2 separate regions of the Homo sapiens genome follow, and region 1 is linked to region 2. Evidence: promoter capture Hi-C in 16 types of primary human blood cells and fetal thymus (Javierre and others, 2016). All regions are on one chromosome and are shown on one strand. The core of a region is centred on a gene start or on the middle of the fragment in contact, and the rest is flanking DNA. Distances in the headings are between cores, read along the strand shown. Region 1 overlaps PPM1K (protein phosphatase, Mg2+/Mn2+ dependent 1K). Region 2 holds the start of NAP1L5 (nucleosome assembly protein 1 like 5).

Region 1 (5,843 bases), core at 1-2,500, 420 kb before region 2:
GGAATGTGATAGTTTTACATACCATCAGCAGACAGGCGGGCATGACTCGAAAAGGCTTTATCTATTTCTAGAAAAGCCAAGGTCAACAGAGTTTCCAAGTTCTTCTCCTTAGGAAGCAAATCCCTTTGTGGGGAGGAAAAAAAGAGCCTTAAACAATCATTTTACAATAGGTTTTTCTCCTCACTGTTACTCTAGCTAGCAGTCATTCCACACAACGGGCCTCAGGATTTTCCTGTCAAATGCTGAAGACCTACTGGCTAAGGAATACCTATTGAGAATCCACAAAGTATCAGGCACTGTGATAAGCTTTTAAGGGCACAACAATGAAAGTCCAAGTCCTTGTCCTTGAAGAATTGATCCTCACTACCACAACCCTGAGAGGTCGAGAGTTCCTTCCCATTGTGAGTTCTTTCGTGGAATGCGGTATACACAGGAAGTCAAGAAATGGTCACTGGGAAGTCAAAAATAGTCACATGGTCGTAACTCCATCACATGTTCTCCCTCTTTCAATTTTAGCAGTAATGTGATCCTCAAAAATGCATTAATACTAGTTGAAGTAAATAAACGGAAGAGCTCCAAAATGCCTGCATTAAATGCATTTTTCCACACTAATGCCAATCATCCAAAGCTATTTTCAACAAGTCAGGTATTCAAAGCTATTCACACCACTTGAAAGAGTAATTACCATTTACTGAAGCACTTATCTGTCCTACACTGATGGGAGTAAATGCTTCTCATAGGTTATCTCATGTACATTATGCCACTTCACTTAAAATGATCACAAATTAAGTGCTATAGATTTTGGTTAATGCTTTCCCCAGGGGAGTTGTTAAAACATGCATTTCTGAAATTGTGATAACCATAAGTAATAAATGGCACACTTAAACTACTGCTCATTCGTGAAGCAGCAGCATGCAACCACTCAAGTAACTATGTTTACGCTGGAAGCCTCAGCCAAAGGGTGAAAGTTTAAGTAGGAAGTATAGGAACTGCAAAGTCAGGAGTGAAAGTCATTGTACATACATAATACATTTCTCCATGTGGGTATGACAGAAATCAGCTGCTGCAGGTCCACCGTGTCCATCATACACTGCAAAGTACAGGACCTCATCTGTCAGCTGAGCGAAGTCAAACCGATCTTCATTCTCTTTCCGTTTGCCAATCTGTGAGGCGCACCCCACATTTTCCAAGCTGATTTTGGGAATTGGCTTGCCATACTTAATGCTGGGTGGCAGCAGAATTGGCTCATCAATGCGGTTATCCCAGATCCCAAAATTGTCCCAGGTAGCTGGACTCCCACTACCATCTGGGTCAAACCGAGAACACCTAGGCTCTGAAGTGGAGCTGTGGCACGTGGGTGTCACCCGCCTGTCGTCCTGCAGCAGGCGGGAGCTTAGCAGCACTCTCCTTCTCACCTGGTTCCCACCACTTCTGACCAAAGTAATTAAGGCAGCTGTTGACATAACTCAGCTCCAAAGGACTCAGTGATGAGGGAAAGGTCAATGGAACAATAATGGAATGTCTTCAAGAAAAATGATGCAAGTCACAGGGGACAGAGGGAGAGAGGGGCAGAGGAGGAGAGGGAGAGAGACAGAGAGAGAGAGACCATCAGAAATTTTGAATATAACTGATATGTCATCAAATATTACCAAAAATGAAGCTCATAAAGGATTTGACAGAAAATACATATATTTATGTTATATATTGGGTAGGCATCCAGTAGCCTGCTTCTAAGAACAGTGGATCAAAAATGAATCGATTTTCCTACCGCATTCACAGCATTTAAATTCTATAAAAATTTAACAGTGTGCACATACACAGAACATGTATCTCTTAAACTTGAACCTGCAATCACTTGTTAAAATGCATGTTCTGACCCAGTGGCTATGGGGTGGAGTCACTCTGCATTTCTAACCAACACCCTGGTGATACAGAAGCTGCTGGTCCCCAAGTTACACTTCTAGTAGCAAGAACACAGAATACAGGTATAAATAAATATACTTCCCTTCATTAACTCTATTGCTTTAAAGAAAAGGTAGGGATAAATATTAACAATAGCAACAAAGTCTCTTCAGGAAAAAATAACAGGCTAATAGAATACTTAAAATAGTTCTGTTTCCAAAGAATGGCCAAGTTTTAACAAAAACATAATCTAGGATAAATCTAAGTTTTATTTTAACATTTCTTAACCTACTAAGCTTTACATACTATATTACTATGGTAAATATAAATTGGTGTGCAAACACCCCAGAGGCACAAAGATAAGCCAGTTTTGATGCTCCCCATCCTAGCAGACTCTCTCACTAGGAGGGTATGTGGGTATGATCTCAGGAACCTGGCAGCACTGCATTTGTGACAAGCAGCCCTGATTTCTGAACGAGTGATCTATATATTTACATTCACAGCTGCAGCTCTCCTTTCCCCAACCCTAACAACCCAACGACACTTGAGACTACACTTCTTTGAAACGATTACTTTACACCCCCATTTCTGGACTCCACCCTGAAACTCAATCCTAAAACCTCTCTTGGCATTACAGGGTGTTACCCAGGGGAACTCCTACCCCACTGCAGGTAGAGCTGTTTCTGGGAATTTTCCACACAAATAAAAAATTTGTCTCCATAGGATTTTGTTCTATTACTTTATTCTTTTAAAATCAACTTGAAAAGATGGCAGAATACTAAGGTTTGATGATGTTGGTGGATGGTCTACAGATAGTATATTATTCTCAATCTTATGTTTAAATTATTTCACAATAAAAAATGAACTTGAAAAAATGTATCTTTCCAAAAGGTATAAACATACACAAATGAAACCCAGCTTGAGTGCAGTTATGAGAAAATGCACTACAGATTTCAAACAATTACTTTCCAATGAATTTTTGGAAATCAGTCTAGCTATGTATAGGGAAGGCCATTACTTCTTTCGGTGGGTAAAACAGTCAAAAGAAAGAATGAGGTTCCAAAGAACATCCTTAGGTGTTTATTTGTTTTAATTTCTTGTAGATATGGGTTCTCACTTTGTTGCCCAGTCTGCTCTTGAACTCCTGGCTTCAAGTGATCCTCCCACCTCAGCCTCCCAAAGTATTGGAATTACAGGCATGCGCCACAGAGACTGGCCTCAATCTTTAGATATTTAAGCAATTAAAAAAAATATGAGCTCTGCTGTCACAGAATTTAGAATAAAGATGGCCACCAAAACAAGTAATGTATCATCAAAGACTTAGGAAGTCATCCCTTCTTGGCCTTTTGGCCAAGATCCTGCATAGAAGGCTGAAATTCATTTCTTCGTAAGACAACATTGTTGGGGGGTTGGAGAGTGGCAGAGACACAGCATCTCTGGTTATCAAAGAGAATTAACATGGCCGGACCCGGTGGCTCACACTTGTAATCCCAGCACTTTGAGAGGCCGAGGTAGGCAAATCACTTGAGGCCAAGAGTTGGAGACCAGTGGGCAACTTTGCAAAACCCTGTCTCCACTAAAAATACAAAAATTAGTCAGGCGTGGTTCCGCATGCCTGTAGTTCCAGCTACTAAGGGGGCTGAGGTGGGAGGACTGCTTGAGCCCAGGAGTTTGAGACTACCCTGGGCAACATGGTGAAACCCTGTCTCTACAAAAAGTACAAAAATGAGGTGGACAGATTGCTTGAGCCTGGGAGGCAGAGGCTGCAGTGAGCTAAGATCACACCACTGCACTCCAGCCTGAGCAATGGAGCAAGACATTGTCTATTTAAAAAAAGAGAGAGAGAGCGAGAGAGAGAAATAACACATTCCATTGCAAGAGATGTTTGTTCTTTTGCTTCTAATTGAGAGTTAGATTTTATTCAGCAACAATTATGGATTCAAGCCAGCAATGGTGTGTTAAAAAAAATTTAAAAACCCAATTATGTTAATTATAGGTGATGAATTGAGACTTCAAACTACAATACAATCTACCAGGTAATGGAAGTACTAATTATTTGGAGATAATTCCCAAAGCAGCTTTATATCATATAGAAAAAAAAAAGAACTTTAAAGAAATACAATTATTAGAAAATATTTGTATTTGAAGAGTTAACTTGAGATTAGCAAAATACTATTCTTTTGGCTTCGGTCTGAAAGTATATATGCCATATTCAGCCTTGAGCTACTTTGCAGTCATGCACCTACTTTAAATCAGAGTTCTGGAATTACAAATAAATAAATATTGAAGTTTTTCTGCAACTGTTCTAGTATATTCTTGCCGTTTTATCTCCTCTTTATCCTCCCCCCAATTTTTTTTTAAATAATAAAATAGAACTGCATTCTCACAGAGAACAAATATCCACTGGAAACATTTTTAAGAAATGAGATAAAATGCAAATTGAGCAGTTTCTGTAAGGCTAAAAACCTGCGTATTTTAAAATCAATCATCAACCTGGCATCCTTCCTCGTGTATTGTTTCTATAATCATCTCAGAAAGCAGGCAGTCATAGGAAACCACCTACTTTAAGGCATATTATTGGCAGAGATGAAATGTGACCCAGATATATAGCTAGTTTATAAAAAACAAACAAACAGGTCGGCATCGCTTAGGTAAACGAGATGTTACGAACTGGCTCCATGTCCTTTTCCATCTGCAATGTAACTAAATCATATCAATCCCCTCCATATTCCCTAAGAAACAATTCAAAGGCAGCTGGAGTTCCCAAAGTAAATAACAACTTTGAATTAAACCTGCACATTAAGAAAAGTTTCCTCCTCCAGAACTCCACAATTGGGATCTGCCATCATAGACCCCACAGCTCTGCCGATGCCCATGGGAATGACTATGCTTTGACCAGCAAGGCAAGGGGAGTAGAACTTGTGATGTGAAAAACAAAAACCTTAAGGAAAAAAAAAAAGCAATCAGTGTTCTCTAAACAAAAAGAGTGGAGAACAAACTAGCAAACACCTAAGGATTGTCTTTTGTCAGTTCAGCAATTAAAAATTGGGATGAGTTCATTATTCCACAAACTAAGAGAGAGAAGGAATCTTTTTAAGTAAGCAGGGGAGATTTAGGTCAATTTTTTGATCGGAAAACATGGCTAGTTTATTTTTATAAACCATTTTAACATTATATTCAATCTTTGGAAGTCAAGTCATCCAAAAGGAAAGCACTTTCTCTGGCAGGAAGGTGCACTGGATTTGAGTTAAACTGTTCTTGTATGTTAAAAGCAGGTCAAAAGGGCAGTTTAAGCACATGCCAAAATTATTCAGGAGTTCTAAAGTTCTGAAACCTGCTTAGATTTTATCCCTCTAGAAAAAATATTTTAAGAAAGCATTCCTATCTGCCCATTATGAAGTGGCATTTAGGTATCTACAACTTCCACAATGAGAACACAGCCCTTTTAAATATTCTTAAACCAAATATTTACCTATCGACCTTTTTAGAAAATCAATTAAGGCATCCCAGTAAATTCAAATAGTATGGAAATTTCCAGAATGTATTTCAGCTAATTGGGACCCCAATACCTTCTTTCTCAATACCCTGCTAGGAGGAAGGGAAAGAAAATTTACTGCTTTACCTGAGGGGAAAAAAGAAAACAACAATAAAAACTCCAAAGGACTCCCCTTAGGTTTAATGTGAATATGTCTATGTTCAGATGTGTGACTGGAGAAAAGTGTGAAATGTGAGCAGTGAAAAGTACTCAGTATTCTATTCCCATAGATATCTTTTAAGACACGTTAGTAAATATGCATACAAGCCACAGACTATATCCCAAACCTGTAACTTTATAATGCCTTTAAGAACTTTCCTTCACAGTCTATTATGTCACCAGCCACTCTCCTCTCTTCTTTCCTCGTCTCTAAGGATTGCAGTCAAGGAATTTGCCTGGGTGATCA
Region 2 (7,346 bases), core at 905-3,404:
TAATAGCTAAGAATTATTCAGCACTTACCATGGTTTGGATGCTATTCTATAGGATTTATATGTATTAATCCATTTGCTCTTCATAGTAACCCATGAGGAAGGGACTATTCCTATTCCCTTTTGTAGATGAGGAGAAACTGGCCACTGAGAGTATTAGCTGAGTTGCCTAAGGTACATTACTAATAGGAGGCAGAGCTGGGATTTGAATGCAGGCAGTCACAGTACCGAGTCTTTTATATATATTTTTTGAAAATACTGTTTTATTAACACCACAGTGATAAACAACTTTAAGCTTATGTTTCTTTATAGATCACTGGCTCACACATAATTCAAAACCCACACAGAAGCTAAGAGTCTTTACATTAAATATATTCTTCCTAAAAATCCTTACTGTATGCATCTGTCCTCAAGCAGTAAAATTTGATTATGCACCATTTTATAATTAATATGTCACATTTACATAGCAAAATAATGAAGGCACAGCTAATACAAGCAAACTTAAACCCTTTCTACTTCTGAGCTGGGGGTAGGGGCACACACTTGGATTGGTTCTTCAAGTATATATTTTTTCCAAACATTAGCTTCAGTGAAGAGTTCTGATGATTTTCACAGCTACACCCTAAAAGCTACATGACAGAAAGACGTCACAAGGCGCAAAGTACATAACGCTGGATACACATGCTTTACATAATTTGCTACATTCTACATCTCTTCAAGTAAATTAATATTTCTAAAACGCTAGGTAAAGTGATTTAATACTTAAACATATTTGGGGTATTTTTTACGTGTTTGTAAATAGACAGTACTAAGAAAACACAAACATGAGATTGTAACTAATGAATACATATGTTGACAGTATTTTACAGGTTTTACACCCTCCTTCTTGGAACCATGTTGTTTCTCTAAATTCAAATACTCAAAACATTTTTCAGAACTTGAAATGGCAGTTTTCCTGGCCTTATTAACAGTAGTGTCATGATCTCCATTGCAATCTTCCTCAATGCCATCAATCTCCTGTGAAGTGTAAAGCTGATGTCTGCGTTACAAAAGCAAAGTCTCAAAGATGACGTTTTTCTTGGGTTCTGCCTTCTCTGCACTGCGAAATGTCATGAGTAAAGAAATTTAAGAATTAAGCACTGAGAACGTGTTCAGTCATGGCTTGGGTGTTCCATGTGTAGCGTATGCTGTGTGATGAATGGGTTTCAAAGTGACGTTCTTTACTTCGCATCTGCTAACACCCTTTGTAAACCTCAATCCTCAGAGAAGAGACCATGAAAACATAATTTTGGGTTTAATTCAGTTTTCTTTAACACCTTTTGATATATTTATTATGTTCAAAATGAAAGTCAAATTTGAATCGAGCTGGCCAGGATCTAATTGCTTTAATTTAATCTATTTTAGGAATGTCAGAATAAATTCACATTGTATTTTGGTCAAAAACCTGAGCCTTTTTAAGTCCATCGATATTCTGGGAAAAACAAAACCAGGCTTTTTTCTTCGTGGGCTTTCTCTTCATCCATCTCTGCCCCCCTTACTTCTTGGCGTCATCAGGCATCTCGGCGTGGGCATCGTCATGTTTGGCCCCCGCGGCAGCCTCTGCCGCAGCCTCCTCCTCCTCCTCGTCTTCCCCCTCCTCCTCGTCATCCTCGTACTCCTCTTCCTCCTCCTCCTCCCCCTCCAAGGTCCATGCACACCCCTCCATCTCGCCGGTGAGCTCTTGGATCTTGGCGAGTAGGGGCTTATAGATGTCATTATACTTTTTTTCCAGAGCCTGAAATTCCTTATCAAATTTGGCTTCTATCTTATCGCATCGCTTCTGCAGCTTTTTGAGGGCCAGGACTCGGCATTTCACCGAATTAGGCAGGCTCTCGATAAAGTCATTTTTCGGCTTTGGGGCATTCTCTGCAGGGGTCTGGGGCTCCTCAGCCATCTGACCAGCCGCGCTGTCAGGGTCACCAGCCGCGCTGTCACAGTCTCCACCCTGCGCACCGCCTTCCGCCATTACCTCCTCTGCCGCTGCCTCCGCCGCTGCCGCCGCCTGGCTAGGCTCCGCAGGCCCCTGGTTTTCCGAGTCGGCCATGTTAGAGGAGAAGCCGCAGAGGTCTAGGAGGGCTCCCGCAGAGGCCCTGCACCCGAGCTGGTCCAGAGAGATCTTGCGGATGCGGCAAGTGGCGGTGACGTGCGGCCGCGGGAATGACGTTGGCCGCGGCCCCGCCTCCTGCTTTCGCGGCACTTGACTGGCTTCCCACTATCAGCTGACGGCCGTGTGCTCATACTGCACCAGATTCCTCCTGTTGCTACCCTGACATCTTCTGGGCCCTCAACACCCGCCTGTTGGACAGACACCCTGTTCCCAGCCCACCCATGTACCCACCCCTGTAGAGCTGGGCTGGGAGTGTCAGTAGCTGCCCGAGGTGCTTCTTCAGGAACTGCATAGATGGCCTCAGACCATTTTCCGTGTGCTCCTCACCCCCATCCAGGCCCTTCTACAAATGCCAGTGCATATGTCTTCGCTTTCCTCTGCATCTCTCTCCATAGCTGGCGTTTGATCACCTCTTAGATTCCTCCGCATTCCTCTCCATGCAGTGGAGGAACGGGCAAGCTGGCTCCATTCCACCCCTTTGGGGACCTGGGGTGCATGTGTGTGGATAGGGCAGCTTGCATATCCAAGCTCTGTACCTATGTGTCCACCCAACACCCCCTTGGCCATCCCACACACCTAGCGGCATATATCTTGGTGGCAAGGTCGTCTCTCAGCAGGACTCCCCTGGAAGCAGTTTTGGAGCCATTTGGGTAGGAAATCTCAGAGCTCCCGGTGTCCTGGTGTGTGTTCTAGAAGATCCTACAGAATCTTTGGCCTGTGGGAAGGACTAAAGCTTGAGGAGGGCTGAAAAAAAGCAAGTCTTTCTAAAGCATGGGGCCCAGGGCCAAGGCCCCCTCTTATCTTGGTTAAAGCATGTGCCATCTATCCCACCCCGCTCACATTCGTCTTCCCTGCCTTCCCCCAACACCGTCTGCTTCCCTGCCTTCCCCACTATCTGTTTTCACACCTTTCCACACCACATCTTCTCCCTCCCTCCTGCCCCTCCCCCGCACTGACTTATGCCCCACCTTCTGCCCATCTTCTTCCCCGCCTTCTTCCCCACTCACTGCCTCCTTCCTCACCTTCCCCCCGCCGCACTGTCCTTTTCCCCACCTTCCTCACCCTCTTCTTCCCCACCCTCCTTACCCTCTTCTTCCCCACCTTCCTCACCCTCCTCACCCCCTTCTTCCTCACCCACTGCCTTCTTCCTCACCTTCCCCCCACCGAACTTTTTCCTCACGCTCCTCACCCTCTTCTTCCTCACCCTCTTCACCCTCTTCTTCCTCACGCTCCTCACCCTCTTCTTCCTCACCCTCTTCACCCTCTTCTTCCTCACGCTCCTCACCCTCTTCTTCCTCACCCTCTTCACCCTCTTCTTCCTCACGCTCCTCACCCTCTTCTTCCTCACCCTCTTCACCCTCTTCTTCCTCACGCTCCTCACCCTCTTCTTCCTCACCCTCTTCACCCTCTTCTTCCCCACCCCCTAGCCCCACCCTCTTCCCACCCACCCCCAGCCCCGCCTTCTTCTTCCCCACCCACCCACCCAGCCCCACCCTCTTCCTCCCCACCCACCCACGCAGCCCCACCCTCTTCTTCCCCACCCTGCCCACCATCTTCTTCCCCACGATCTGTCTTCTTCCCCACCTTCCCCCACGGTCTTCACCACCTTCCCCCAACCGTCTTCTTTACCCTGCTCACCATCTTCTTACTGGCTCACCATCTTCTCTGCCTTCTTTCTCACTCCCATATATCATCTCTTTTGATGGCTACAGCTGCCTTGAGATTAGGAATGATGTTTCTCATTTTACAGATAGTAAACTTAGAAGCAAATACAGTGAAATCATCTTACTGCATGTATCACTTAATTGGCAGATGCAGGGGCAGAAAACAGGCCTTTTGACCCCTATAGTATGGATGTTGTGACAGACTTTAAAAAAAAAATCCCACATTTTGGTTAAATTCATTTGACTAACTTAACTTGCTTAAAATATTTAGGGCATGTTCATCTTTCAAGATTTTTATTTTCCTGTCTCAACAGATCTTAAAACTTAGTGTTAAACCAGACTGTTTTTTAAAAAGTCTGGCTTATTGAGGTATCATTTACATAACAGTAAAATTTGTCCTTTTGGGCGTGCTTTCACAAGCAAATACAGTAATGTAAGCACTGTAGTAATCAAGATATAGAACAGTAAATAGTCCCCTAAAAGTCCGTTGTGGCCCTTCCCCAGCATCCAGCCCTGGTGAGCACTGTGCTGTTCTCTGTCTCAGTACCTCTGTTTTTTCCAGAATGTCAGGTAAATTGAATCATATGAATGTAGCCATTTGAGCCTGGCTTTTTTTTTTTACTAGCAGAGTACATTTGAGATTGATTTATGTTGTTGTATATATTAGTAAATTTATTTTTTATTATTTTTTATTTTACTTTTTATTATTGGGTAGTATTCCCATTTGTGGTGTTTGCAGTTTTTCATAATTGTGAATAATGCTGTGATCATTCATCTACAGGTTTCTCTATGAGCATGGACTTTTATTTCTCTTGGGTAGACACCTAGCAGTGGGATTGCTGGGTCATACAGTAAATGTACGCTTAACTTCATAAGAAGCTGCCACACTGTTTCCCAAAGTGGCTTTAATCTGTTTAGTGTTGCTAAAAAGGAAGACCGGAGGCTGCTAGCTAAAAGGTTCAAGATTGGGCATGTAGATGGTGAGAGTCTCAGGCTGCTTCCTGAGACTGTTGAGCTATTTCTACCAATAGTCCCTTAAGTGAAATCTAGGTTTTTCTATCAAGCTCCTCAAAACTCTTTCAGGCTCTACCTATTTCCTCATTTCAAAGGCACATCTGCGTTTTTAGGTATTTGCTGTTGTAGTACTGTACTTCTTAGTACCGAAATCTATATGTCAGTGTTCTCCAGAGAAACAGAACCAACAGGGTGTGAAGCCGAGGGGGGTGGGGGCAAGGAGGGATTTATTTTAAAGAATTGGTTCATGTGATTGTGGGGGCTGTCAAACCCGAAATCTGCAGGGTAGGCTGTAAGGCTAGAAATTCTGGCAATAGTTAATATTTAAATCTTGAGTCCAAAGACAGTCTGGAGGGAGAATTCTTTCCTCTTTGGAGGACCTCAAGTCTTTTTCTCTTAAGGCCTTCAGCTGATTGGATATGGCCTACCCACATTATGGAGGGTAACCTGCTTTACTCAAAGTCAATGAATTTAAATGTTCATCCCAACTAAAAAAATATCTTAACAACATCCAGACTGGTGTTTGACCAAACAACTGGATGCCATAGCCTAGCCAAGTTGACCTATAAAATTAACCATCACAGTCTGTAATAAAAATTGTTGTGATGGTGTTTCTCTTGGGTAATTGTATCAGAAAAATGTCATTAGTTTAGTGTCATGGGTTTCAGAGAAGTGAGGTGTTATATACGGTGTGAGAAACTTTCAGCATCAATGATTAACATGCACAATAATCTTTTTACATTAGTGGCTTTATTTTAAAGATTGCACAGTTATACCATTTTAAAAATGGGAAAAGGGAGGCTTACTAGTTAGATACAGAAGATGGCAGAGCCTGGATTTGAACCCCTGTCTGCCTCACTTATCCACTGTATTACACCATTTGTTGGCTAGTTATTGGTGTGGATGGTGAACATGTAAAAACTATCTGCTTGGAGGAAACCCAATAATTCAAATGTAGCTTTATGAAGTATTAAATTACAGTGATGGATAAGTAGTAAATAACTATCTTCATGATGTGAAGTTTTAAAATTGTTTTTAATCTAAAATACAAAAAGTTAATGTGACAAACATTTGTATATATGATCCACAGTCAACAGGTATTTGCTTCAGATTTTTTAATAAAAGAAAAAAATTACTGATACCGCTGTACATACCCTTAATTCCAAATTACTGATACTGTTGTACATACCCTTAATTCCATTCCCCTCTTCCCGCCCTTCTTTCTTACACAGACAAAACTCTTATGAATTTGATATGTTTTTTTTATGTTTTTATACTTTTTATAATAAACATGTATGTTAAAACAGATTTTTTTTTTTTTTTTTGAGATAGGGTCTTGCTTTGTCACCCGGGCTGAAGTACAGTGGCGTGATCATGGCTCACTGCAGCCTTGACCTCCTGGGCTCAGGTGATTCTCCCACCTCAGCCTTCTGAGCAGCTGGGACTACAGGCATGCACCACCAGGCCTGGCTAATTTTTTGTGGAGACTGGGTCTTGCCATGTTGCCCAGGCTGGTTTTGAATTCTGGGCTGAAGCCATCTGCCTGCCTCAGCCTCCCAAAGTGCTGGGATTATAGGCATGAGCCACTGCACCTGGCTAGACAAAGATCTTTTTACATTAATGTCTTTGTTTTTAAAAATGAACACTTACACATCTTATGTATGCATCATATTTATAATTTCATACTCATAAGCAAAATCTCATATCCATAAACAATATGATAATACTAGTTAATACTTACAAAGTAATTGTTATACACCAGCCTTGGTTTAAGCACTCTTACATGTATTCACTCATTTAATCCTAAAGCAGTCCCATGTGTTATCTACTCTTACTCTCCCCCATTTTACAAATGAGGACACAGGCATGGAGAAGTTAAATAACTTGCCCAAGGGTCACAAGCTCTGAGTGACAGAGCTACTACCTTTTATAAGTAGCATTGTTTTAAGTGTTAAAACACAACTTACATAAATGCCATCATATTTTACTGAACATGCAAATACTTGATTTTCACTCAGCATTGTTCTTGAGATTCTATTCATTTTGCTAAGTTTAGATCTAGTTAATTCCATCAAAGTGCTCTGCTTTATGGTTTCCATCATATGACTCTACCATCTTTTCCTTGTCCATGTTCATATTAATGGATGTTTAGTGTTGTTTCTCTAAATTCTCTATATTGCAAGAAAATGCTGCAGTAAACTTGCCTGCACTCATCTTCTTGTGCACACATGTTAGCGTCTCTGCATTACCTACCCGCTAGCACAGTGGCATGGTCAAGGGTATTTACATTTTCAACTTATCTAGATATTGACAGAATTTCCCCCCAAAATGTTTATGTCTAGGTTCACAGTTTATATTTCCACTTGTGAGAGACTGAATATTCCTATGGACAATGGCCAGGCCATATATAAATAAACATGGAGCTGAGACCCACAATCTGCAGCAACCTGCCCGGGAAACCAACCTCTTATCTGCAATAAGCAGCCCAGGAAGCCAGCCTGCTATAAGTCAGACTTGCAGGCAGC

The links. The method cuts DNA at HindIII sites, captures the fragments that hold promoters and counts their contacts. A CHiCAGO score of 5 or more calls a contact.
Region 1: a contact is called between a fragment that was not itself captured here and the fragment with the promoter of NAP1L5 in region 2, in 1 of 17 cell types (total CD8 T cells). The highest score is 6.8, in total CD8 T cells.

The regions. Positions count from the first base shown.
Region 1 is chr4:88,277,121-88,282,963 of GRCh38, forward strand. It overlaps PPM1K (protein phosphatase, Mg2+/Mn2+ dependent 1K), which reads right to left. Exons shown (of 7, transcript NM_152542.5): 2 at 1,024-1,522; 3 at 23-123. The coding sequence starts at 1,463. Among named protein-coding and RNA genes, the nearest start is that of PPM1K, 4.5 kb to the right of the region's middle. The HindIII fragment of the contact is 1,892 bases long and covers 305-2,196 here.
Region 2 is chr4:88,695,675-88,703,020 of GRCh38, forward strand. NAP1L5 (nucleosome assembly protein 1 like 5) reads right to left here and starts at 2,155. Exons shown (of 1, transcript NM_153757.4): 1 at 239-2,155. The coding sequence starts at 2,080. The coding sequence ends at 1,532. All of the region lies in intron 23 of HERC3 (HECT and RLD domain containing E3 ubiquitin protein ligase 3), which reads left to right. RefSeq lists an enhancer at 2,245-2,304. The HindIII fragment of the contact is 2,584 bases long and covers 291-2,874 here.